6 separate regions of the Homo sapiens genome follow, and regions 1, 3, 4, 5 and 6 are each linked to region 2. The links are contacts of gene promoters, found by promoter capture Hi-C in human tissues and cell types (Jung and others, 2019). All regions are on one chromosome and are shown on one strand. Each heading gives the region's core, a stretch centred on a gene start or on the middle of the fragment in contact. The rest is flanking DNA. Distances are from core to core; before and after follow the strand shown. Region 1 holds the start of ZNF845 (zinc finger protein 845). Region 2 holds the start of ZNF808 (zinc finger protein 808). Region 3 overlaps ZNF845 (zinc finger protein 845). Region 4 overlaps ZNF347 (zinc finger protein 347). Region 5 overlaps ZNF525 (zinc finger protein 525). Region 6 has its middle 5.9 kb from the start of ZNF613.

The links. Contacts are between HindIII fragments. The study calls those that stand out against the background at their distance.
Region 1: the fragment with the promoter of ZNF845 here is called in contact with the fragment with the promoter of ZNF808 in region 2 in 1 of the 25 tissues and cell types used here (spleen).
Region 3: a contact is called between a fragment that was not itself captured here and the fragment with the promoter of ZNF808 in region 2, in 2 of the 25 tissues and cell types used here (bladder and dorsolateral prefrontal cortex).
Region 4: a contact is called between a fragment that was not itself captured here and the fragment with the promoter of ZNF808 in region 2, in 1 of the 25 tissues and cell types used here (aorta).
Region 5: a contact is called between a fragment that was not itself captured here and the fragment with the promoter of ZNF808 in region 2, in 5 of the 25 tissues and cell types used here (adrenal gland, dorsolateral prefrontal cortex, lymphoblastoid cells and 2 more).
Region 6: a fragment that was not itself captured here is called in contact with the fragment with the promoter of ZNF808 in region 2 in 4 of the 25 tissues and cell types used here (dorsolateral prefrontal cortex, heart right ventricle, hippocampus and 1 more).

Annotation. Positions count from the first base shown.
Region 1 is chr19:53,332,499-53,336,739 of GRCh38, forward strand. It overlaps ZNF845 (zinc finger protein 845), which reads left to right and starts at 1,251. Exons shown (of 4, transcript NM_138374.3): 1 at 1,251-1,294. RefSeq lists enhancers at 367-1,231, 1,330-1,379, 1,650-1,739 and a silencer at 1,040-1,259. The HindIII fragment of the contact is 26,552 bases long and covers 1-4,241 here.
Region 2 is chr19:52,526,256-52,530,713 of GRCh38, forward strand. It overlaps ZNF808 (zinc finger protein 808), which reads left to right and starts at 1,413. Exons shown (of 5, transcript NM_001039886.4): 1 at 1,413-1,456. RefSeq lists enhancers at 32-858, 859-1,686. The HindIII fragment of the contact is 14,459 bases long and covers 1-4,458 here.
Region 3 is chr19:53,353,030-53,357,174 of GRCh38, forward strand. It overlaps ZNF845 (zinc finger protein 845), which reads left to right. Exons shown (of 4, transcript NM_138374.3): 4 at 1-3,877. The coding sequence ends at 559. It also overlaps the pseudogene LOC107987264. Among named protein-coding and RNA genes, the nearest start is that of ZNF525, 11 kb to the right of the region's middle. The HindIII fragment of the contact is 6,579 bases long and covers 1-4,145 here.
Region 4 is chr19:53,148,407-53,152,292 of GRCh38, forward strand. It overlaps ZNF347 (zinc finger protein 347), which reads right to left. Exons shown (of 5, transcript NM_032584.3): 3 at 835-961; 4 at 275-403. Among named protein-coding and RNA genes, the nearest start is that of ZNF347, 8.7 kb to the right of the region's middle. The HindIII fragment of the contact is 9,121 bases long and covers 1-3,886 here.
Region 5 is chr19:53,379,539-53,383,938 of GRCh38, forward strand. ZNF525 (zinc finger protein 525) reads left to right here. Exons shown (of 4, transcript NM_001348156.2): 4 at 1,184-4,400. The coding sequence ends at 2,481. Among named protein-coding and RNA genes, the nearest start is that of ZNF765, 13 kb to the right of the region's middle. The HindIII fragment of the contact is 5,110 bases long and covers 1-3,900 here.
Region 6 is chr19:51,919,365-51,923,803 of GRCh38, forward strand. No RefSeq gene overlaps it. Among named protein-coding and RNA genes, the nearest start is that of ZNF613, 5.9 kb to the right of the region's middle. The HindIII fragment of the contact is 6,337 bases long and covers 1-4,439 here.

The sequences.
Region 1 (4,241 bases), core at 1-2,500, 810 kb after region 2:
CAGTACCCGTATCTCGGTAGGAAATTAAATATTTCAAACATCAAATAATTCCAATGTAAATGTATGGATCTTTAAATAATTCTGAGCCTTGAAAGGAATGTGGTCATGCAAGCTGAGTCCAGTGGTATGCAGGCGCAACTTCTAAGAGTTTTCCTGGCCAGACGCGGTGGCTAACGCCTGTAATCCCAACACTTTGGGAGTCCGAAGCAGGTGGATCACTTGACGTCAGGAGTTCGAATCCAGCCTGGCCAACGTTGTGAAACCCAGTCTCTACTAAAAATACAAAACTATTAGCCAGGCTTGGTGGCGCGCGTCTGTAATCCCAGCTAGTTGGCAGGCTGAGGCAAGAGAACTACTTTAACCCGGGAGGTGAAGGTTGCAGTGAGCCGAGATCTCGCCACTGCACTCCAGCCTGGGTGACAGAGAAATACTCTGTCTCAAAAAAGAAAAGAAAAGAAAAGAAAAATCTAAATATAAAAATGAAAGTAATAGATCTCTTCCACAAATGTGCTGGGACAACTAACTGGATATCCACGTGAAAATGAATAATGTTGGATCCCTAACTCACAAAATCAAAAATTTTATTTAAAGAAATTTTAAAAAAGGAGAGAGAGAGAGACGAGGAAGGGAGCGCTGCCGGAGGAGGTGTTACTTTGTCGCCCAGGCTAACTTGGACCCCCCCCCCGGCTCAGCGATCCTCCTGCCACTGCTTCCTGAGTAGCTGGGACCTCAGGCTTTCGCCCCGCGCCCGCATCTCTGCTGTGTTTAAGCAGTAGGTGGTGACCTCACTCCTCCCTGGCCTGAGCACTCCGTCCCGCATCCCAGGGGGAGGCCCTAGGGAAATCTCTGAAGCTGAGGACAGGGTGGACTCTCCTTTCCCAGTGAATGGAGAATAGAAAGGGAGAGGATTTCTATTCTGTTCTGTGGGCCGTCAGCATGAAATCGTATGTTCCACCCAGGCAGGGCTTTGCATTTCACATTCTAGTTTGCATCCCCGTTTCAGACAATTCCAGGGCTTTTGAATCATGCCTCAGCCTTCCTGTCCGGTCTCGCCTCCAAAGCTCGAAAACAAGAGGCGCTGGGAGCGAGGTTGAGAGACGCACGGGTCCCACCCCGGCCCCGCCTTCTGCCAATTCTAAAGGGGAAGGTCTCTCCGCTTCGCGCCCCGCCCCTACCTCGCTCAGGCCCCGCCTACCTCCCCGCGGGTCCCGCCCAGGCCTGGCTTCTGTCCTGCGCGCGCAGATTCGCGCAAACCCGGAAGCGGATCGCATGGAGTGATGGTCCCACCGCAGCGGTGAGTTTTGCTCTGTGTTGTGTTAAGTCTGCGCTTCCCAAGTCCCCGGCGCTTCTGTACCTGGGACGTGGGGTCCCCATAGACCTGGAAATTCTCACCCGTGTTCCTTCACCTAGAGCAAATTTAGACGTCCTCGTCAGAGTCCAGGGGTCGCTTCCTTTTGGGTTTAAAGTCGCCCTGAGGATGGTCCCTTCCCGAATCTTTCTGCTATAGGGCAATGTATACACTTCCCATCGCGTAGTTTCCCTGCTCAAAACCTTTTTCTGACTCCTCCCGACCCGCACTTTTTAAAGTCCTTACCGCGAGGCGGATTCCCGCCCTTGGCGCCTCCCAGTCTTGTCTTAAGGCGCCGTCGCCCCCCACCTCCCTCCTCGTTCCAGGCCCTTATGCTCCCCAGGTCTCCCCACCGCAGTCACCGCTTACCCTGAGCCCGCGTTGGGGAGGTGCCCGGGGCTGTCCTATGACACCGGGTGTTCTTGCCTGCCCTGCACCAGCCCCTGGAAAATGCGCTCCTCCGGGATGCAGGCGTCTTACTCCAAAGCCCTCCTGTGATTGTGTTGGCCAAAGGGATCAGGAGACTGAGAGAGAGAGCAGTAGAAAACCTGAGACAGAGAAAAGAAGAATGAGAAAGACCATAACAGATGGCAAAGTAGAGGATGAGTGAGGGATTTGCCAAGAGAGAGCAAAAATGAAAAAAACAAAACAAAACAAAAAACAGCAGGAGGAGCAGATCCCAGGGAAAAAGAAAACAAGAGCTAGAGAGAGAAGGGGAGAATGAGAGATATGTACAGAATTAGGGAGGGAAGCACAGTAATGAAGAAAGGGGGGCTGGGCGCAGTGGCTCACGCCTGTAATCCTAGCACTTTAGGAGACTGGGGCAGAGGGATTGCTTGAGTCCAGGAGTTCAAGACCGGCCTGGGCAAAATAGTGAGACCCCCCCCCCCATCTCTGTCAAAAAAAAAAAAAATTTAACTGGGCGTGATGGTGCACACCTGTAATCCCAGCTGCTCTGGAGGCTGAGGCAGGAGGATCACTTGAGCCCAGGAGGTCCAGGCTGCAGTGAGCAGAGATCATGCCACTGCACTCCAGCCTGGTCAACAGAGCAGAGCCTGTCTCAAAAGATTAAAAGGGGTGGGGGACTTTGGGTTCAGATGAGTGGGTGAGTTCATTGGATATGATTAGTTGTGATATGTTGACTTCTGTTTATATAATCTAATAACTTAGAACTTGTTTAAATTATACAGATGATATTGAGAATTTTAAAATTCCTATCTATAAGACACATACATTCTGTAAATCTTGGCATTAGAGGTCAGCTTCCACTTGGAATCCCTATTCAGCCAGAGGGTAGTGACTTAATTCAATTGTGAGAGCCTCTCTTCCCTCTTCCCATGGTGAGGTAGGAAATGGGGCAGTGAAGTGGGAGAAAAAAATCACTTTCTGTTATTATGTAATAATTTTAATTTAATTAATTAATTTATAGTTTGAGACAGGGTCTGGCTCTGTCGCCCAGGCTGGGGTGCAGTGGTGTGATCTCCTCTAACTGCAGCCTCGACCTCCTAGGCTCAAGCGATCCTCTTACCTCAGCCTCCTGAGTAGCTGGGACCACAGGCGTGAGCCACCAAGTCCGGCTAGGTTTTGTATTTTTTTTTTGTAGAAATGGGGTTTCACTGTTTCCCAGGCTGGTCTCAATTCTGGCCTCAAAGGATCGTCCTGCCTTGGCCTCCCAAATTACTGGGATTACAGGTGGAATTACAGAGAGGAGCCACCGTGCCTGGCCTACATAGTCGTTTTTTGTTTTTTGTTTTTGTTTTTGTTTTTGTTTTTTTGAGATGGAATCTCACTCTTGTCCAGGATGGAGTGCAATGGCACAATCTCGGCTCGCTGCAATTTCCGCTTCCCAGGTTCAGACTGATTCTACTGCCTCAGCCTCCCAAGTAGCTGGGATTACAGGCATGAGCCACTGCATCCAGCTAATTTTGTGTTTTTAGTAGAGACGGGGTTTCTCCATGTTGGTCAGGCTGGTCTCAAACTCCCAACCTCAGATGATCCACCCGCCTTGGCCCCCCAAATGCTGGGATTACAGGCATGAGCCACCACGCCTGGCCCATAGTACTTTTTAAAAGGGACATCAGGGCGTAGTGGCTCATGCCTGTAATCCCAGCACTTTGGGAGGCGGAGGCAGGTGGATCACAAGGATCACAAGGTCAGGAATTCAAGACCAGCGTGACCAACATGGTGAAATCCCATTGCTCCTAAAAATTCAAAAATTAGTTGGGCATGGTGGCATGCACCTCTAATTCCAGCTACTTAGGAGGCTGAGGCAGGAGAATCACTTGAACCCAGGAGGCGGAGGTTGCAGTGAGCCAAGATTGCGCCACTGCATTCCATCCTGGGCGAGAGCGAGACTCCATCTCAAAAAAAAAAAAAAAAGGAACATCAAAGCTGGGCGTGGTGGCTCATGCCTGTAATCCCAGCACTTTGGGAGCCAATCACCTAAGGTCAGTAGTTTGAGATCATTCTGGCCAACATGGTGAAACCCTGTGTCTAGTAAAAATACTAAAAAAGTAAGCTGGGCATGGTGGCATGCATCTGTAGTTCCAGCTGCTCGGGAGCCTGAGGCATGAGAATCACATGAACTTGGGAGGTAGAGGTTGCAGTGAACCGAAATGGTACCACTGCACTGCAGCCTGGGGGGCAGAGCGAGGCTTCATCTCAAAAAAACAAACACCACCACCAAAAAATGAAAGCAAAAGGCACATCAAAAGTGCTTTTGTTCTCGTTGTGTAACATATTTTCTTTTTTTTCTTTCTGGTTCCTCTTCCTTCCTTTCTTTCTTTCTTTTTTTTTTTTTTTTTTTTGCAGTTTTACTTTGAGATAAATCTTAGTTTTAAATATTTCTTTTTTAATACATAATCACTTCTGAAAGATGCATTTGCAGCATCCT
Region 2 (4,458 bases), core at 163-2,662:
AAGCAAAGTAAAGAATATTTCTTGGGCCAGGCATGTTGGCTGACGCATGTAATCCCAGCATTTTGGGAGGCTGACACAGGCAAATAACTTAAAGTGAGGAGTTCGATACCGGCCAGGTCACCGTAGTGATACCCCGTCTCTATGAAAAATACAAAAATTAACCGGGCATCGTGGCACGCGCCTGTAATGCCAGCTGCTCCCGAGGCTGAGGCAGGAGAATCGCTTGAACCCAGGAGGCAGAGGCTGCATTGAGTTGAGATCTCGCCACTGCACTCCAGCCTGGGCAACAGAAATACTGTGTCTCAATAATAGTAATAATAATAATAATAATAATAAAGTAATAGATCTCTTCCACAAATGTGCTGGGACAACTAACTGGATATCCACATGGAAAAGAGTAATGTTGGATCCCTATGTCACACCATCAAAAATTTTATTTAAAAAAGTTTTTTTTTTTTTTTTAAAAAGGGAAAAGGCCCGGGCGCGGTGGCTCACGCCTGTAATCCCAGCACTTTGGGAGGCCGACGTGGGCGGATCACCTGAGGTCGGGAGTTCAGCCTGGCTAACATGGTGAAACCCTGTCTCTACTAAATATACAAAATTAACTGGGCATGGTGGCGCATGCCTGTAGTCCCAGCTACTCGGGAGGCTGAGGCCGGAGTATCGCTTGAAACCAGGAGGCGGAAGTTCTAGTGAGCTGGGATCACTCCACGGCACTCCAGCCTGGGCGACGGAGTGAGACTCTGTCTCCAAAAAAAAAAAAAGGGAAAGAGAGAGAGAGAGACTAGGAAGGGAGACCTGCCGCAGTGGGTGTTACTTTGTCGCCCAGGCTGGCTTGGGACCCCAGGCTCAGCAATTCTCTCCGTTGCTTCCTGAGTAGCTGGGACCTGAGGCTCCCGCCCCCGCGCCTCTGCTGTGTTTAAGCAGCAGGTGGTGACCTCACTCCTTCCTGGCCTAAGCACTCCGTCCCGCACCCCTGGCGGTGGCTTTAAGGAAGTCTCTGAAGCTGAGCTCAGGGTGGACTCTCCCTCCCTAGTGAATGGAGATAGAAAGGGAGAGGACATCTATTCTGTTCCGTGGGCCGTCACCATGACATCGTACATGCCGCCCAGGCAGGGCTTTGCATTTCACATTCTAGTTTGCATCCCGGTTCCAGACAATTCCAGGGCTTTGGAATCATGCCTCAGACTTTCTGGCGCTCTCGCCTCCACAACCTAAAAACAGAGACGCTAGGAGAGAGGCTGAAAGACGCGCAAGTCCCGCCCCGGCCCCGCCCCGGCCCCGCCCTCTGCCGGTTCTAAAGGGCAAGGTCTCAGCGCCTCGCGCCCCGCCGCTACCTCGCCCAGGCCCCGCCCACCTCCTCCCACCTCCCGCCCAGGCCTGGCTTCCGTCCTGCGCGCGGAGATTAACGCAAACCCGGAAGCGGATCGGGTGGAGTGAAGGTCACGTCGCCATGGTGAGTTTTGCTCTGTGTTGCATTAAGTCTCCGCTTCCCAGGTCCCCGCCGCTTCTGTCCCTGGGACGTGGGGTCCCCACAGACCTGGAAATTCTCGCCCGTCTTCCTTCGCCCAGAGCAAATTGAGACAGCCCAGTGAGAGGCCGGGTGTCGCTTCCTTTCGGGTTTAAAGTCGTCTGGAGGCTGGTCCCGTCCCGGGTCTGTCTGCTATAGGGCAATGTATACACTTTCTATTGCGTAGTTTTTCTGCTCAAAACCTTCTTCTGACTCTTCCCTCCTCGCGCTATTTAAAGTCTTCACCCACGAGGTGGATTCTTGCCCGGGGCGCACCTCCCAGCCACCCCTCGTCGGCCCCTGGAGCGTCGCGCCGCAGCCCCAGTCCCAGGGAGGCCGCGTCCTCTGCCTGGTCCTGGGATCTTGCAGACCCCATCCTTCTCCCAAGGCGCCGTCCCCCCTCCTCCCACCTCCCTACTCGTGCCAGAGCCTGCGGCTCCCCAGGTCTCTCCTCCGCAGTCACCGCTTCCATTGAACCCACACTGGGAAGGACGCAGGGCCCTGTCCTGTGACATGGGGTCTTCTTGCCTGCCGAGCTCCAGCCCTTGGAAAACGCGCTCCTCCGGGATGCAGGCGTCTTACTCCAAACCCTCCTGCGATTGTGTGGGCCGAAGGGATCAGGAGACAGACAGCAGTAGAAAACCTGAGACAGAGAAAGAATAAGAAAGGCCCATAACAGATGGCAAAATAGAGGATTGGTGAGGGATATGCCAAGATATGGTGAAAGTGGAAAAAGAAAGCAACAAAATACCTAGAAAAGCAGGTGGAGAAAAGCAACTGGAGAAATGTAGAGAAAAGCTAGATGTACACAGAGATGAAGGACGGCAAGGTAGGGAGAGTGGCAGCAAAGAGGGAGGCTCATCAGAGTGAGGGAGAGAGGGAGGGATTTGGAGCCAGGGCAGACAGAGCAGAGTGGTGCTGGTGTCAAGGAGAACCGAGGGAGAAACACAGCAGGGAGGACACCTGGGGATCTGGGGTGACACAGAGTGGGGACAGGGGAGTATATCAGGGAAGAGAGAATTTAACAGGGAGAGCAGAGGAGGCGCAGAGATGGGTGAAGAGGCAGAAATAGATGGAGATTGAGGACGATTGAAAGATTGGGGAGAAGGAGCAATAAGAGGTTAAATAAGTTGCGAGGATGGAGCAGAAGAGATGGAAGAGAAGGAATAGAGGGAAGAAGGGGGATAAACAGCAGAAGAGAAGAGGGGTACAAAATGAAGAGCAGAATCCCAGGGAGAAAGAAAAGAAAACAAGAGCTAGAGAGAGAAGGGGGAGAATGAGAGATATGTACAGAATTAGGGAGGGAAGCGCAGTAATGAAGAAAGGGGGGCTAGGCACAGTGGCTCACGCCTGTAGTCTCCACACTTTAGGAGACTGAAGCAAGAGAATTGCTTGAGTCTAGGAGTTCGAGACCAGCCTGGGCAACATAGTGAGACCCCTATCTCTGCCAAAAAAAAAAAAAAGGAAATAACGGGGCATAATCGTGTGCACCTGTACTCCCAGCTGCTCTGGAGGTGGAGGTAGGAGGATGACTTGAGCTCAGGAGGTCCAGGCTGCAGTGAACTGAGATCATGCCACTACACTGCAGCCTGGTCAACAGAGCGAGATCTTGTCTCAAAAGAAAAAATGGGGCGAGAGACTGGGTTTAGATCAGTGGATGAGTTCATTGGATATGATTAGTTGTGACATGTTGACTTCCCTGTATATAATCTAATAACTAAAAACTTGTTTAAATTATACAGATTGAGAATTTTAAAATTGGTGTCTATAAAACATGTACATTCTATAAATCTTGGCATCAGAGGTTATGTTCCACTTGGAATCCCTATTCAACCAGAGGGAAGTGACTTATTCAGTTGTGAATCACTGTCTTCCCTTTTCCTAGGATTGGGAGGATGTGGGGTAGAGAAGTGGGAAAAAAGTCGCTGTCTGTTATTACATAATACTTTTAATTTAATTAATTAAATGATATTTTGAGTCAGGGTCTGGCTGTATCACACAGGCTGGAGTGCAGTGGCGTGATCCTCTAACTGTAGCCTCTACCTCTTGGACTCAAGTGATCCTCCTACCTCAGCCTTCTGAGTAGCTGGGACCAGAGGCATGAGCCACCAAGCCCAGCTAGTTTACATATATATATATATATATATTTTTTTTTTTTGTAGAAACGTGGTTTCACTATGTTTCCCAGGCTGTTCTCAAAACCCTGGGGTCAAAGGGTCCTCCTGCCTTGGCCTCCCAAATTACTGGGATTACAGGTGGGATTACAGGGATGGCCCACCGCGTCTGGCCTACATAGCCCCCCCCTTTTTTTTGAGAGGGAGTTTTGTTCTTTTTGCCCAGGCTAGCGTGCGATGGCATGATCTCAGCTCACCACAACCTCCGCTCCCTGGCTTCAAACAATTCTACTGCCTCACTCTCCAGAGTAGTTGGGAGTACAGGCATGCACCACCATGCCTGGCTAATTTTGTGTTTTTAGTAGAGACGAGGTTTCTTCATGTTGGTCCAGGCTGGTCTTTAACTCCCTACCTCAAGTGACCCGCTGCCTCGGCCTCCCAAAGTGCTGGGATTCCTGGCGTGAGCCACCACTCTCAACCCATAGTAGTTTTTAAAAGGGACATCAAGGCATGGTGGCTCACGCCTGTAATCCCAGCACGTTGGGAGACAGAGGTGGGTGGATCATGAGGTCAGGAGTTCAAGACCAGCCTGGCTGACACAGTGAAACTCAATCTCTACTAAAAAATACAAAAATTAGCCAGGCATGGTGGCAGATGCCTGTAATCCCAGCTACTCAGGAGGCTGAGGCAGGAGAATTACTTGAACCCGGGAAGCAGAGGTTGCAGTGAGCCGAGATTGCATCACTGCATGCCAGGCTGGGCAACGGAGCTAGACTCCATCTGACAAAAAAAAAGAGAGAAAGAAAAAGTAAGGAACATCAAAGTTGGGCCTGG
Region 3 (4,145 bases), core at 443-2,942, 830 kb after region 2:
GCGTGATTCACACCTGGCACAACATACTAGAATTCACACTGGAGAGAAACCTTACAAGTGTAATGAATGTGGCAAGAACTTCCGTCACAATTCAGCCCTTGTAATTCATAAGGCAATTCATAGTGGAGAGAAACCTTACAAGTGTAATGAGTGTGGCAAGACCTTCCGTCACAATTCAGCCCTTGAAATTCATAAGGCAATTCATACTGGAGAAAAACCTTACAAGTGTAGTGAATGTGGCAAGGTTTTTAATAGAAAAGCAAACCTTTCACGTCATCATAGACTTCATACTGGAGAGAAACCTTACAAGTGTAATAAATGTGGTAAGGTTTTTAATCAACAAGCACACCTTGCATGTCATCATAGAATTCATACTGGAGAGAAACCTTACAAGTGTAATGAGTGTGGCAAAACCTTCCGTCACAATTCAGTCCTTGTAATTCATAAGACAATTCATACTGGAGAGAAACCTTACAAGTGTAATGAATGTGGCAAGGTTTTTAATCGAAAAGCAAAACTTGCACGTCATCATAGAATTCATACTGGAAAGAAACATTAGAAATATGAAGAATGTGACAAAGTTTACAGTTGTAAATCAAGTCTTGAAAGACAGGAGAATTCATACTGGAGAGAAAGCTTACAAATGTAAGAGTTTGTGACAAGAATCTTGGGCGTGATTCACACCTGGCCCAACAAACTAGAAGTCACACTGGAGAGAAACCTTACAAGTGTACTGAGTGTGGCAAAGCCTTTAGTGGGCAGTCAACACTTATTCACCATCAGGCAATCCATGGTATAGGGAAACTTTACTAATGTAATGATTATCACAAAGTCTTCAGTAACACTACAACCGTTTCAAATCATTGGAGAATCCATAATGAGAGATTTTGAAAGTGTAATAAATGTGGCAAATTTTTCAGACATTGTTCATACCTTGCAGTTCATCGGTGAACTCATGCTGGAGAGAAACCTTACAAATGTCATGATTGTGGCAAGGTCTTCAGTCTAGCTTCATCTTATGCAAAACAGGAGACTTCATACAGGAGACAAACTTCACAAGTATGATGATTGCAGCAAAGCCTTTACTTCACGTTCACACCTAATTAGACATCAGAGAATCCATACTGGACAGAAATCTTACAAATGTCATCAGTGTGGCAAGGTCTTCAGTCTGAGATCACCCCTTAAGGAACATCAGAAAATTCATTTTTGAGATGATTGTTCCAAATGCAATGAGTATAGCAAACCATCAAGCATTAATTGGCATTAGAGTCAATTCAGCATTGACTTGAGTTTGAATTGACTTAACATTGAGTTCAAGCATTAATTGACATTAAAGTGTTTATGTTAAGAAGATTGGGCCAGGCGGGGTGGCTCACGCCTGTAATCCCAGCACTTTGGGAGGCCAAGACCAATAGATCACTTGAGGTCAGGAGTTTGAGACCAGACTGGCCAACAGACATGAGTCACTTTTCCCACCCTGTATTTTGTTTCTTTAATAAAAACTGTTACGGGTTTTTATGGGTATCTGTTGAATCTAAATCACATTTGTTTGTATAATCATTCAACAATATTAAGACTTCCAATCCATCAATATGGGTTGTATGTCTATTTAGTTTTTTTGATCAATGTAGATTTCAAGGTACAAGCTTCTCACCTCCTTAATTCAGTTTATTTGTAAGTATTAAGTTTCATAGCAAATTGAAGTGTGTTCATAAGTTTCTTTAAACATTATTTATTGTTAATGTAAGGAAATTCAACTAATTTTGGGTGCTGATTTTGTATTCTGCAAATACATTGAGTGGGTTTATTAGTATCAGTAAAATCTTGGTTGATTCTTTGTGATTTTCTTTCTTTTTTTTTTGAGACAGTCTCACTCTGTTACCCAGGCTCTTTTCTTTTTTTTTGAGAAGGAGTCTCACTCTTGTCACTTGGACTGGAGTACAATGGCACGATCTTGGCTCACTGCAGCCTCTGCCTTTCGGGTTTAAGTGATTCTCCTGCCTACTAACTGAGATTACAGGTGCCTGCCACCATGTCCGTATAATTTTTTTGTATTTTTAGTAGAGACGGGGTTTCACCATGTTGACCAGGTTTTTCTTGAACTCCTGACTTCAGGTGATCCGCCCCCATCAGCATCCCAAAGTTCTGGGATTACAGGTGTGAGCCACCGCACCCAGCCAGTGATTTTCTATATAGAATGTCGTATCATCTACAAGGAAATAATTTTTTTTTTTGAGACAATGTCTCTCTCTGTCGCCAGGCTAGAGTGCCGTGGAATGATCTTTGCTCACTGCAACCTCTGTCTCCCACGTCCAAGCAATTCTGTCTCAGCCTCCTGAGTAGCTGGGACTACAGGCGCATGTCACCACACCTAGCTAATTTATTTATTTTTTTTATTTTAGTAAAGACGGGGTTTCACCATGTTGGCCCAGATGGTGGGCCAACATGGTGAGTACCTTGAAGAGAACTTGAAAGAATATGTTAGATCGCCTAACCTCATTATCCGCCCACTTCGGACTTGCAAATTGCTGGGATTATGGGTGTGAGCCATGAGCCCGGCCCCAACAAATGTAATTTTACTTCTGTCTTTCTGATTTGGATGAGTTTTATTTCTTTTGCTATTTAATTGCTCTGCCTAGGACAGCCAGTATTTATTGAATATCAGGGGTGAGAGCATTCTTGCATCATGTGATATCCTACAGGAAAACCATTCCATTTTCCTTCATTGGTTATTTCAGCTGTGGTCATTTCATGGATGATTTTTATATTTTTGAGGTAAAACTCTACCTATATTGTTTAGGATTTTTACGAAGAATGAATATTGAGTTCTGTGAAATGCTTTTTCTCTATCTATTGAGATAATGTGTTTTTTATCTGTCATTCTGTGCAAGTGTGTATCCCATTGATTTGAGTATGTTGAACCATCCTTGCATCCCATGAATAGGTAGCACTTGGATGTTTACAATCCCTTTTTATATCCTCTTGAATACAGTTTGCTAGTATAAGGGTCTTCAAGAAGTTCATGGAAAAATACATATTATGAAAAATTTGTGCATAAATTTCACACTTTTTGTACCAAAATAAACCAGTATAAACTTGTTATAACGTCTGAACAGGCTCTAGTTTGAGGCACTCAGAAGGATAAGACATCAGTTTGAAAAGAACCTCTATCACAGCAATACAAATTCTGTTAAAACAAGAAGAAACATCAAATTTACGATGAGACCAGACGCAGTGGCTCAGGCCTGTAATCCCAGCGGTTTTAGAGGCCCAGGCAGGTGGGTGACGTGAGCCTAGGGATTCAAGACCAGCCTGGGCGACATAGGGGACCTCTTCTCTGCTAAAAGTAAAAAAAGTCAGCCAGGTGTGGTGGTGCACTGCTGTGGTCCCAGCTACTCTGGGCACTGAAGTGGGAGGATCAGTTGAAGCAGGGATTTTGAGGCTGAAGTGAGCCCTGATCTCACCACTGCACTCCAGCCTGGGTGACAGAGCTAGACCCTGTCTCAAACAAGCAAATAAATGAGAGGCATAATTCCTCCTTTGAGAATAAAGGAAAAGATTTCCCTTCCTTTTGTCTCTTTTCTCAGGACGTTTATTTAGAAAATTTGTAAATGAGGCCGGGCGTGGTGGCTCACGCCTGTAATCCCAGCACTTTGGGAGGCTAAGGTGGGCGGATCACGAGGTCAGGAGATCGAGACCATCCTGGCTAACACGGTGAAACCCCGTCTCTACTAAAAATACAAAAAATTAGCTGGGCGAGGTGGCAGGCACCTGTAGTCCCAGCTACTCGGGAGGTTGAGGCAGGAGAATGGCGTGAACCCAGGGGGGCGGAACCTGCAGTGAGCCGAGATCGCACCACTGCACTCCAGCCTGGGTGACAGCGAGACTCTGTCTCAAAAAAAAAAAAAAAAAAAAAAGAAAATTTGTAAATGTATTTTCTCTGTCTTCAGAAGTGGTATTTTTTAGAAACAATAAAACTTGTTTTCATCTTAGTGGTGATCCAGGGGTGTTTTTCTAAAGGACTTGGGAGTTCTGTCTTTGAAATGCCAACAACAAAAAAGATAGTACATCTATCTCAGTAGTAAATTAAGTAATTCAAAATGAAGCTGGGTGCGGTGCCTCACGCACTTTGGGACAGTGAG
Region 4 (3,886 bases), core at 952-3,451, 620 kb after region 2:
CACACGGAGTCAAGGAACCAGAGTTCTCAGAAGCTAGAAAACAGTGTTGTCCATCATGATAAAGACTTTGCCTTTGTCTGAGCTGCAGCACCACTGGAAGGTGAAAGGATAAACTAGTACAAGTCTAAAGGATAGACAAAAGGGGGCAAATAAAGATTTCTGTTCTGAGGTCACAGAATTCAAACTTGTTTTCCCACAGAACTCTCAGATTTGCATAGAGTTTCCCAAACACTATTTAATAAACGGCATTTTCTCTACCCATCTGAACTCTTACCTGTGATCACAGCTTTGATCCATTCCCATCCATCTGGGTTTCCTGCTATTTGTACTTGGCTCTCCAAAGTGAAAGGCTCCTTCCCTTGCTCCAACATAGAGATAATACTGAGGTCAAAACAAGAGATTCCTGCTTATGAAAAGAAAGGAAAACAATGGGCTGTAGATTTTCCAGAGTCCCAGTCCTATGTTTACATGAGGAGGGAGGACTTTACAGCTGTATCTAAAAAAACACTTCAAAAATTCATCCACTAAATGCTTCTTTATAAATTGTTAGGAAACACTATAATATGCAAATATATAGCTCTCATCCCAAAACCACTGAATCAAAGCATGGGGATAGAAAACAGGGAATTGGATATTTTAAAAGTCCTGAAACCCTCCAGTGACATCAGGAAGAGGAAAATTAAAATCCAGTTTCCACATTATGGAGATTTTCATTTTTCAGTCAACACAGCTTCAGTCTCAGCCAAGCAATGCATGAGCTCCCAGGAGAGCCACATGGAAAATGAAAAGATACACAGGGGCAGATCCTGACTTCTGGAAGAAAGTCATCCTCACCCAGGGAGGCCAGGTTCCTATAATTCTCCAACATCACGTCCCTGTACAAAGTCCTCTGAGCGGGGTCCAGGCATGTCCACTCCTCCTGAGAGAATTCTATAGCCACATCCCTGAATGTCACCTGTCCCTAAAATGAAAAACACATCCACCAGGGGGATATAAGGAAAAGCTCCAATCTTCACATAAAATGAGAAGACAGAATAGATTAAACTGGAGTAAGTGGGCCGATATCCAAGTTGTGATATAATAAAATATACATATGGTCTTCATCCCCCTTTCCTGACATACATCTCACTTGGAATCTCTGGAGTGATAAGTGCCTTTGTAAGCTAATGAGATGACTGGTGGCTGGAGGCCCCAAGATAGTTTCAGAATGGCGGGGTGGTCACCAGAAAGACCAAGGCTGGATTACAGAGTTGGGACTTCGAGCCCCATCCCCCAACTTACCCTGAGGGGATGGGGGCTGAAGGCTCGGCTGATCACCAGTAGCCAAAGATGTAAGCAATCGTGCCCACTTAATGAAGCCCCCATAATAACCCGAAAGGACAGGGCCTGAACAAGCTTCAGGATAGGGAAACACACGGAGGCTCTGAGGACGCCCCCACCGACCCCCACCAAAGACAGCACTCAGCCTCCCAAGTAGTTGGGATTACAGGCATGCACCACCACGCCATGCTCCTTCTCCCATACCTTACCCAATAGACTGCTTACATCTGGCTGTTCATCTGTATACTCTGTAATATCCTATATAATAAATGGGTCAATATAAATAAAGTGTTTCCCTGATTTCTCTGAGCCATTCTAGCAAATTAATCAAACCTGAGGAGGGGGTCATGGGAATTCATGATGTATAAGCCAGTCAGTGAGAAGCAGAGACCATCTGTGTTTGCAACTGGCATTGAAGTGGGCACACTCTTGTTGGATTGAGCCCTCAACCTGTGGGATCTGATGCTATGTCCAGGTAGACAGTGTCAGAATTGAACTGAATAGGAGGTCACTCAGCTGGTGTCCAGTGCAGAATTGCTCCCTTGGTGTGTGTGGGAAAACCCAGGACATCTGGGATCACAGATGTGTTTTCCGTTGTGAGAGTACAGTAGGAGAAACTGGGTCTGTTTTCACCACATCCTCACACACACAGGTATTTTTGGGCAGAATGTTTCCTTAATTCTGTCTTCTTATACTCTTCTATAAGAGGTTATGATAGTCTTTAAATCAGTGTTGATTTCTCAGTTTTGTAGACAATACAAAAAATACACAAATATACAAATAAAAAACCAACACCGGGTTATCTTTATTGAAGTGCTATATATTATGTCTAACACACCAAGTGATATTCAGTATTTAGATGATCTAGAGCATGAGTGATGTCTTACGAGATGAAAATGTGTACAGTGACTTTAAAGAAAGGTCAGAATCTAAAAACTGTGATCATCGCAATAACAATGACAGATGTTTCTGAGCACTTCCCAAGTGCAAGGCATTATTCTATTTATTTATTTACTTACTTACTTATTTTTTTGAGACAGAGTCGCTCTATCACCCAGGCTGGAGTGCAGTGGCATGATCTCAGTTCACTGCAACCTCTGCCTCCTGGGTTGAAGCGATTCTCCGGCCTCAGCCTCCCAAGTAGCTGGAATTACAAGCACCCACCACCACACCCGGCTAATTTTTGTATTTTTAGTAGAGATGGGGTTTCACCATGTTGACCAGGCTAGTCTCAAACTCCTGACCTCAGATGATCCACCCGCCTTGGCCTCCTAAAGTGCTGGGATTACAGGCGCAAGCCACTGTGCTCAGTCTGGCATTATTCTAAATAAATGTCCTGCATGTACTAACTTGTATATGAATATGATAGCCCATGAGAGAAAGATCTGTTCCCATCTTACTAGCAGATAAATGTATATGACAGACACTCTAAGAAACTTGCGTCAAGACAAAGAGCTAAAATGTCAGAGCAAGCATCTGAATCCAGGTGTCTGGGAATAAGAATTAAACCTAAAGAATCAAATAGTTGGCCAGGCGTGGTGGCTCATGCCTATAATCCCAGCACTTTGGAAGGTCGAGGCAGGCAGATCACGAGGTCAGGAGATCAAGACCATCCTGGCTAACATGGTGAAACTCCGTCTCTACTAAAAAAATACAAAAAAATTAGCCAGGCATGGTGGCGGGCACCTGTAGTCTCAGCTACTCAGGAGGCTGAGGCAGGAGAATGGCATGAACCCAGGAGGCGGAGCTTGCAGTGAACCGAGACTGTGCCACTGCACTCCAGCCTGGATGACAGAGCAAGACTGTCTAAAAAAAAAAAAAAAAAAAAAAATCAAATAGTTAAGTAAAAGAACATGAAAAGGATCTAAATGAGCAAAGTTGAAACAAGTTCATGAATAACAACATGGAACTTCATAAAAGGTAATTACATATATACACACATCTATTTATGCCCATAATATGTAACTATTCTTACTATTAAATCATTAATGTGATAGCTGAGAACAAATTTAAGGACACAGAAAATATTTAAGATACAATTTGAATTGCTAAAAAACACAAAACTTATTTAAAATCATGATGTGTGGGCTGGGTGCAGTGGCTCACACCTGTAATCCCAGCACTTCGGGAGGCCGAGGAGGGCGGATCACGAGGTCAGGAGTTCGAGACCAGCCTGACCAACATGGTGAAACACCATCTCTACTAAAAATACAGAAATTAGCCGGGTGTGGTGGTGGACATCTGTAATTCCAGCTACTCAGGAGGGTGAGGCAGGAGAATCGCTTGAACCCGGGAGGCAGAGATTGCAGTGAGCCGAGATTGCACCACTGCACTCCAGCCTGGGTGACAGAGTGAGACTCTGTCTCAAAAAAAAAAAAAAAAAAATCATGATGTGTGCTTAATAAAAAAACACGCACTCACGTCACATATACACAGTTTAGTAATAACAACAGTGAAAAGGTAAAACATCCACTCTGTCCTCATTCAGAGAAGGCTCCAATAAAGATGTAGAATGAGCTATACATCTTTCCTAACATGAAAACATGTAAATTTTCAAAATTTGCAG
Region 5 (4,400 bases), core at 96-2,595, 850 kb after region 2:
TTTTTCTTAACAGGGAATTGTTTAGAATTCTGCAGTTTGTATAAATGTACTTATGATTTGCTTGCTGGTTTTATGCGTTACAGTTATTTTACCAATTCATTTTTATGATTTTACATAAAGCTTTTCGGTATGTGGTATGCAATATAACTGACACAGTTTACTAGTTAATGTCACAAAGTGCCAGCGGGTGCTGTGGCTCACGCCTGCAATCCCAGGACTTTGGGAGGCTGAGGCGGGTGGATCACTTGAGGTCAAAAGTTCAAGGCCAGCCTGGCCAATATGATGTAACCCTATCTCTACTAAAAATACAAAAATTAGCCAAGCATGCTGGCATGTGCCTGTAATCCCATGTACTCAGGAGGCTGAGGCAGGAGAATGGCTTGAACCCAAAAGGTGGAGGTTGCAGTGAGCTGAGATCAGGCCATTGCCCTCCAGCCTGTTGTGACACAGTGAAACATTGTCTCAAAAATACAAAAATAAAAAAAAAATTTTAAATGTTACAATATGCCTTTTCTGCATGGATATAGGTAATTTTATGACAGTTATTCAGAAAAATATTTTTTTTTTTTTGAGATGGAGTCTCACTTTGTCATCCAGGCTGAAGTACAGTGGTGCGATCTCGGCTCACTGCAACCTCTGCCTCTTGGGTTCAAGCAATTCTTGTACCTCACCCTTGCGAGTAGCTGGGAGTACAGACGTGCACCACCATGCCTTGCTAAATTTTGTAAACTTTTCTTATCTTCTCAGTGCTATGATTATTTAACAATACAGAATTTCCATTGATTTTGGTTATCCTTACATGAGCTTGCTGTGGATTATTTACCAGTATATTATATTGTGTGGTCCTTTAGTATTTATTTGTATACAGTAAGTATGCTGTAAATATGAAGAATATATACTTTTCATTGATGTGACAGTGATATGTCTTTTGCAAACTGTTAGACACTTTAGGGTCACAGTGGAAAAATACTCCTTATTTTAGGCTTACACATGTTTGTGCCCTTCAGTGTTTTGTCATGATATTGGAAATAAGCTTTCATAATAATAATTTGAAGCACATGTAATCGCCCTTTATTTATTAAAGAATCTTACGATTTTGTGTTCCTAAACTTTGAAGATCATGTTTGGGAAGTTTAAAATCAGTATTGTCTTTTGTGTACCTATTAGTGTTTATATTTTGTAGGTATCTCTTCCAAATGCACAATGAAGGAGTTCTCATCAACAGCACAAGGCAATACAGAAGTGATCCACACAGGGACATTGCAAAGACATGAACGTCATCACATTGGAGATTTTTCCTTCCAGGAAATTGAGAAAGATATTCATAACTTTGAGTTTCAGTGGCAAGAAGATGAAAGAAATGGCCATGAAGCACCCATGACAAAAATCAAAAAATTGATGGGTAGTACAGAGCAATATGATCACAGGCATGCTGGAAACAAGCCTATTAAATATCAGCTTGGATCAAGCTTTCATTCACATCTGTCTGAACTCCACATATTTCAGCCCAAAGGGAAAATTAATAATCAAGTGGAGAAGTCTATCAACGATGCTTCCTCGGTTTCAACAGCCCAAAGAATTTCTTGTAGGCCCAAAACCCATATATCTAATAACTATGGGGATAATTTTCTGAATTATTCATTACTCACACAAAGACAGGAAGTACGCATGAGAGAAAAATCTTTCCAATGTATTGAGAGTGGCAAAGCCTTTAATTATAGCTCACTCTTAAGGAAACATCAGATTATTCATCTAGGAGAGAAACAATATAAATGTGATGTATGTGACAAGGTCTTTATTCGGAAGCGATACCTTGCACGCCATCGTAGATGTCACACTGGTGAGAAACCTTACAAGTGTAATGAGTGTGGCAAGTCCTTCAGTCAGATGTCATCCCTTACATATCATCATCGACTTCATACTGGAGAGAAACCTTACAAATGTGAAGAATGTGACAAAGCTTTCAGACACAATTCAGCCCTTCAAAGACATAGGAGAATTCATACTGGAGAGAAACCACATAAGTGTAATGAGTGTGGCAAGACCTTTAGTCAGAAGTCATACCTTGCATGCCATCGTAGCATTCATACTGGAAAGAAACCTTACGAATGTGAAGAATGTGACAAAGCTTTCAGTTTCAAATCAAACCTTGAAAGTCATAGGATAACTCATACTGGAGAGAAACCATACAAGTGTAATGATTGTGGCAAGACCTTCAGTCATATGTCAACCCTTACATGCCATCGTAGACTTCATACTGGAGAGAAACCTTACAAGTGTGAAGAATGTGATGAAGCTTTCCGTTTCAAATCAAGTCTTGAAAGACATAGGAGAATTCATAATGGAGAGAAACTGTACAAATGTAATGAGTGTGGCAAGACCTTCAGTCAGGAGTTATCCCTTACCTGCCATTGTAGACTTCATAGTGGAGAGAAACCTTGCAAGTGTGGAGAATGTGACAAGGCTTACAGTTTCAAATAAAATCTTGAAATACGTCAGAAAATTCATACTGGAGAGAAATGTTATAAGTGTAATGATTGTGGCAAGATCTTCAGTCATACGTCATCCATTGTATACCATCATAAATTTCATAGTGGAGAGAAACCTTACAAATGTGAAGAATGTGATGAAGCTTTCAGTTTCAAATCAAACCTTGAAAGACATAGGAGAATTCACACTGGTGAGAAACCTTACAGGTGTAATAGGTGTGGCAAGACCTTCAGTCATACATCATCCCTTACATGCCATCATAGACTTCATACTGGAGAGAAACCTTACAAATGTGAAGAATGTGATGAAACTTTCAGATACAAATCAAATCTTGAAAGACATAGGAGAATTCATAATGGAGAGAAACCGTACAAGTGTAATGAGTGTGGCAAGACCTTCAGTCAGAAGTCATGCCTTACACGCCATCATAGACTTCATACTGGAAATAAATCTTATAAGTGTAATGAGTGTGGCAAGACCTTCAGTAAGGAGTTAACACATGCCATCATAGACGTCATACTGGAGAGAAACCTTAGAAGTGCAATGAGTGTGGCAAAACCTTTCATAGGCAGTCAGCGCTTATTTACCATCAAGCAATCCATGGCAGAGGGAAACTTTACAAATGTAATGATTGTCACCACGTCTTCAGTAATGCTACAACTATTGCAAATCATTGGAGAATCCATAATAAAGAGAGACCTTACAAGTGTGATAAATGTGACAAATTTTTCAGACATCGTTCATACCTTGCAGTTCACGGGCGAACTCATGCTGGAGAGAAACCTTACAAATGTGAAGAATGTGATAAAGCTTTCAGATTCAAATCAAACCTTGAAAGTCATAGGAGAATTCATACTAGAGAGAAACCTTACAAGTGTAATGAGTGTGGTAAGATGTTCAGTCAAAATTCGGCCCTTGTAATTCATAAGGCAATTCATACTGGAGAGAAACCTTACAAGTGTAATGAATGTGGCAAGGTTTTTAATCGCAAAGCAAAGCTTGCATGTCATCATAGACTTCATACTGGAGAGAACGCTTGCAAGTGTAATAAATGTGGCGAGGTTTTTAATCAACAAGCACACCTTGCACGTCATCATAGAACTCATACTGGAGAGAAACATTACAAGTGTAATGAGTGTGGCAAGACCTACTCTCACAATTCAGTCCTTGTAATTCATAAGACAATTCACACTGGGGAGAAACCTTACAAGTGTAATGAGTGTGGCAAAACCTTCCATCACAATTCAGTCCTTGTAATTCATAAAACAATTCATACTGGAGAGAAACAAGCGTAATGAATGTGGCGAGGTTTTCAATCAACAAGCACACGTTGCACGTCATCATAGAATTCATACTGGAGAGAAACCTTAGAAATGTGAAGAATGTGACAAAGTTTACAGTCGCAAATCAAACCTCGAAAGACAGGAGAATTCATACTGGAGAGAAACCATAAAAATGTAAGAGTTTTTGACAAGGCTTTCGGACGTGATTCACACCTGGCACAACATCCCAGAGTTCACACTGGAGAGAAACCTTACAAGTGTAATGAGTGTGTCAAAGCCTTTAGTGGGCAGTCAACACTTATTCACCATCAGGCAATCCGTAGTGTAGGGAAACTTGACTAACGTAATGATTCTCACAACGTCTTCAGTAATGCTACAACCATTGTAAATCACTGGAGAAGCCATAATGAAGAGAGATCTTACAAATGTAATAATTGTGGCAAATTTTTCAGACATCGTTCATACATTGCCGTTCATTGGCGAACTCATGCTGGAGAGAAATCTTACAATGTCATGATTGTGGCAAGGTCTTCAGTCAAGCTTCATCTTTTGCAAAACAGGAGAATTCATACAGGAGAGAAACCTCACAAGTGTGATGATCGTGGCAAAGCCTTTACTTCACATTCT
Region 6 (4,439 bases), core at 1,282-3,781, 610 kb before region 2:
TTCAGATTAGGGATGCTCAACTAGTAAGTATAAGTAAGTAAGTAAGCAAGCATTCTGAAAAAAAAAAAAATCTAAAATCTGAAACACTTCCAGTCCCAAGCATTTCTGATAGGGGATGCTCAATCTGCATTTGTTGGAGGCCGAGAAAATGGGGGTTGTGACCAACCCAGTATACCACTGGAGGCTATATGAGCAAACAGAAAACTGTTCTCATGAAAGCAGGATGTTGGAAAACTGACAAATTGCATCTGCCACCAGAAGGAGTGCCAAGAGCAGTCACACCCCAGGCAGAGTGTTCCTTGTGGTTTGTAGGGAGCCAAAGGCCCATGGGACATGATCAGCTCAGCATTCCACTGGAAGCTACATGATCAAACAGCAAACTGTTTATCACAAATGCAGGATATGGGCAAACTCACGACTGTGCCTGCTGACAGAAAGTTTGCTGGCGGCTATCATTCCCTGGCGCTGAGGTTATCTGCTGGGACATCTAGAGCCTGTTGTTTGAGGAATGCAATCTTGCAAGCCTACTCTGGACCAACCAACTGACCCCTTCTTCCACACCCCTTCTCACTATCCCTTTTGCCTAATAAATACAAAGGGCTGTGTAAAGCTCAGAGCCTTTGTCCACTAGAGGCAAGGTGCTCCTTGACCCCTTCTTCCAAATATACTCTTTTGTCTCGTCTTTTATTCCCGCATTTGCCCCACTTTGTTCAGCCCACCAGGGATTGTGGCAGGTTACATAGTGGCCCCCCCCAAACAGTGACAGAATCGAGTGCTCCACAGTGGTTATCTATAGGAACATCTGAAGCCTGTTGTATAAAGAAAGTAATTATGTGTACCTCTAATGAATCAAAGCAGCTGACCAACCGTTACCTCTCTCTCCCTATTGATTCTACCTAATACATATGAAGGGCTGTAGAAGCTGAGGGCTGTCTTTGCTCACTAGAAGCAAGGAGTCCCCTGACCCCTTCTTTTAAAATGTATCTTTTTGTCTTTGTCTTCACTTCTGCATTTGTCCCATTTCGTTCAATCCCATAGGAACAGACTGTAACAGGCATTGACATTTTGGTTTGGAGAATTCTTTATTTTGGGGCACTGTAGTGTCATTGTAGGATGCTTAGCAGCATTCTTAGCCTCTATCCACTAGCTCCAATTAGCACACCCTCCTTTCCCAGGTGTGACAATCAAAAATTTCTCCAGACATTGCCAAATGTCACCTGGGGTCAAAAAATGAAAACCACTGATAAAAAAAAAAGCAGAATATTGAGGACTCTTTGTGGAAGACCATATGATGGTCATAGAATCCATCCATCTTAAAAATCTCTACATTTTATCCCTGAATAAAAACAGACCCCCAGGAGGCTGTGGACTTTGGCTACACTGTTCTGGGTCCCTGAAGCACTCTGATCACTGAGTTTGGTTTTGGTATTACACCACTGGCTTATCTGTGGGGGCACTAACTTCTATATGATCTATATCATGACCCATCAAAGAAATTTCTTCTTAAGTAACATGAAATATTCACTTTTCTAGAGGAGCTTTCTCCTCAGGGAAAAGGAAACGATTTGTTATTGTGTCCATGTGGTAGACTGCATTTCCCAAAGATGACCACAATAATATCTCACATTCCAAAGAAAACCTTCTGCTAAATCTTGCCACTCCCACACGAAGAGATGGAGCCTATTCCCTTCCCCCTTGAACCTAGCTAGTCTTGGTGATTTGCTTGTACCTGCAGAATACAACAGAGGTGACACAACATAACTTCCGAGGCTAAGGCAGAAAAGCATGGGGGAAAGAATGAGAGATCAGACTATTACTGCATCTATGTAGAAAAAGGAAGACAAAAGAAACTCCATTTTGATCTGTACTAAGAGAAATTATTCTGCCTTGAGATGCTGTTAATCTGTAACCCTAGCCCCAACCCTATGCTTGCAGAAACATGTATTGTATTGACTCAAGGTTTAATGGACTTAGGGCTGTGCAGGATGTGCCTTGGTAAAAATGTGTTTGCAGGCAGTATGCTTGGTAAAAGTCATGGCCATTCTCCAGTCTCGAGTACCCAGGGACACAATGCACTGCAGAAAGCCACAGGGATCTCTGCCCAAGAAAGCCTGTGTATTGTCCAAGGTTTCTCTCCACTGAGACAGCCTGAGATATGGCCTCATGGAAAGAGAAAGACCAGACTGTCCCCCAGCCTGACACCCATAAAGGGTCTGTGCTGAGGAGGATTAGTGAAAGAGGAAGACCTCTTTGCAGTTGAGATAAGAGGAAGGTATCTCTCTCCTGCTCATCCCTGGGAATGGAATGTGTCAGTGTAAAACCCGATCGTACATTCTATTTACTGAGATAGGAGAAAACTGCCTTATGGCTGGAGGTGAGACATGGTGGGGGCAATACTGTCTTTACTTCACTGAGATGTTTGTGTAAAGTCAAAGATAAATCTGGCCTATGTGCATATCAAGGCACAGCACCTTTCCTTAAACTTATTTATAACACAGAGTCCTTTGCTCACGTTTTCCTGCTGACCCTCTTCCCACCATTACCCTATAGTCCTCCCACATCCCCCTCACCGAGATAGTAGAGATAGTAATCAATAAATACTGAGGGAACTCAGAGACCAGTGTTGGTGCGGGTCCTCCGTATGTTGAGTGCCGGTTCCCTGGGCCCACTTTTCTTCCTCGATAGTTTGTCTCTGTGTCTTATTTCTTTTCTCAGTCTCTCGTCTCCACCTTGTGAGAAATACCCACAGGTGTGGAGGGGCAGGCCTCCTTCATCTGGCACCCAACATGGGGCACGAACCCATGACCCTGAGATTAAGAGTCTCATGCTCTACCGACTGAGCTAGCTGCAGAATGCAACAGAGGTGACACAACATAACTTCTGAGGCTAAGGCAGAAAAGGCCCTGTGGCCGCATCTTGGCTGTCTCAGAGCCAGCATCATGCTGTGAGAAGCCCATCCATGTCACATGTGGAGGTCACACACAGGTGCTCTGGCTGGCAGCCTCCTTGAGCCTAGTTTTCAAGTAATCCCAGCCTGGCACACAGATACAGAGAGGAAGAAGCCTTCAGATGATTCCAGTCCCCAACCTTCTGAGTCTTCCAGTTGAGATTCAAGACATCATGGTGTGAAGACAAGCTGTGCAGTAAAGGATAAACAGAGCGAGTCTGGGTTACCCAGAAACTGAACATTCCAAAGAAAGGCTCAGCCCTTCCCTATACCTGGCAGGTAACTTCTAAACCAAGCTTGTCCAACCTGCGGACCATGGGGTGCACATGGCCCAGGAGGGCTTTGTTTTGTTGTTGTTGGTGGTGGTGCACACAGCCCAGGAGGGCTTTGTTTTGTTGTTGTTGTTGTTGTTTTTGTTGTTTGAGATGGAGTTTCACTCTGTTGCCCAGGCTGGAGTGCAGGGGCACAATCTCAGCTCACTGCAACCTCCAACTCTCAAGTTCAAGCGATTCTCCCACATTCGAGCAATTCTCCTACTTCAGCCTCCCAAGTAGCTGAGATTACAGGCATGTGCCACCATGCCCAGATAGTTTTTTGTATTTTTAGTAGAGACGGGGTTTCACCATATTGGCAAGCCTGGTCTGGAACTACTGACCTCAAGTGATCTGCCCACTTCAGCCTCCCAAAGTGCTGGGATTACAGGCATAAGCCACTGTGCCTGGCCTCCAGGAGGGCTTTGAATGCAAAACAAATTTGTAAACTTTCTTAAAACATTATGAGATTTTTTGAGTTTTTTTTCTTTTTTCTTTAAGCTCATCAGCTATTGTTAGTGTTAGTATATTTTATGTGTGGCCCAAGACAATTCTTCTTCCAGTGTGGCCCAGGGAAGCCAAAAGACTGCACACTCCTACTCTAAGCCGTTGGAATATATTGTCCGATGAGGGTCTTTGTTTACTGGGAGCCTTGGGTCACACAAGATCGTCTATGCTAACAATGTATGATGGAAGCCTTGGGCCACACTGTAGTTATGGTGGCCTCTGAAAGGGCTGAAGAATAAGGTCAGCCACTCATGTGCTCAGCCTCACCCATATAACTAAAGCCAAATAAAAACCCTGGACACCCAGGCTCAAGTGGGCTTCCTGTACTGGCAATACATCATGCCTGTCGTCACACATCATGGCTAGGACAATCAAACATTGTCCATATGACTCCACAGAGAGAGGAAAACTCAAAGCTTCTGCACAGCATCTCCCAAACCCTGCCCTACACACCTTTCTCTGTTTCTGATTTTAACTGTATCCAGTCTATGTAATAAAATAAAATCATGAATATGACAGTTTTGCTGAGCTCTGTGTTATTCTAACAAATTATTGAACCTGAGGAACCCCAGATCTTGCGATCCCCAGAACATACAAGCCATCACCATGTCTCACTTCCTGACTCAGTGAATCCATGCAGATCATAAAAGTAAATTCACATCTCTAGGTCTTGG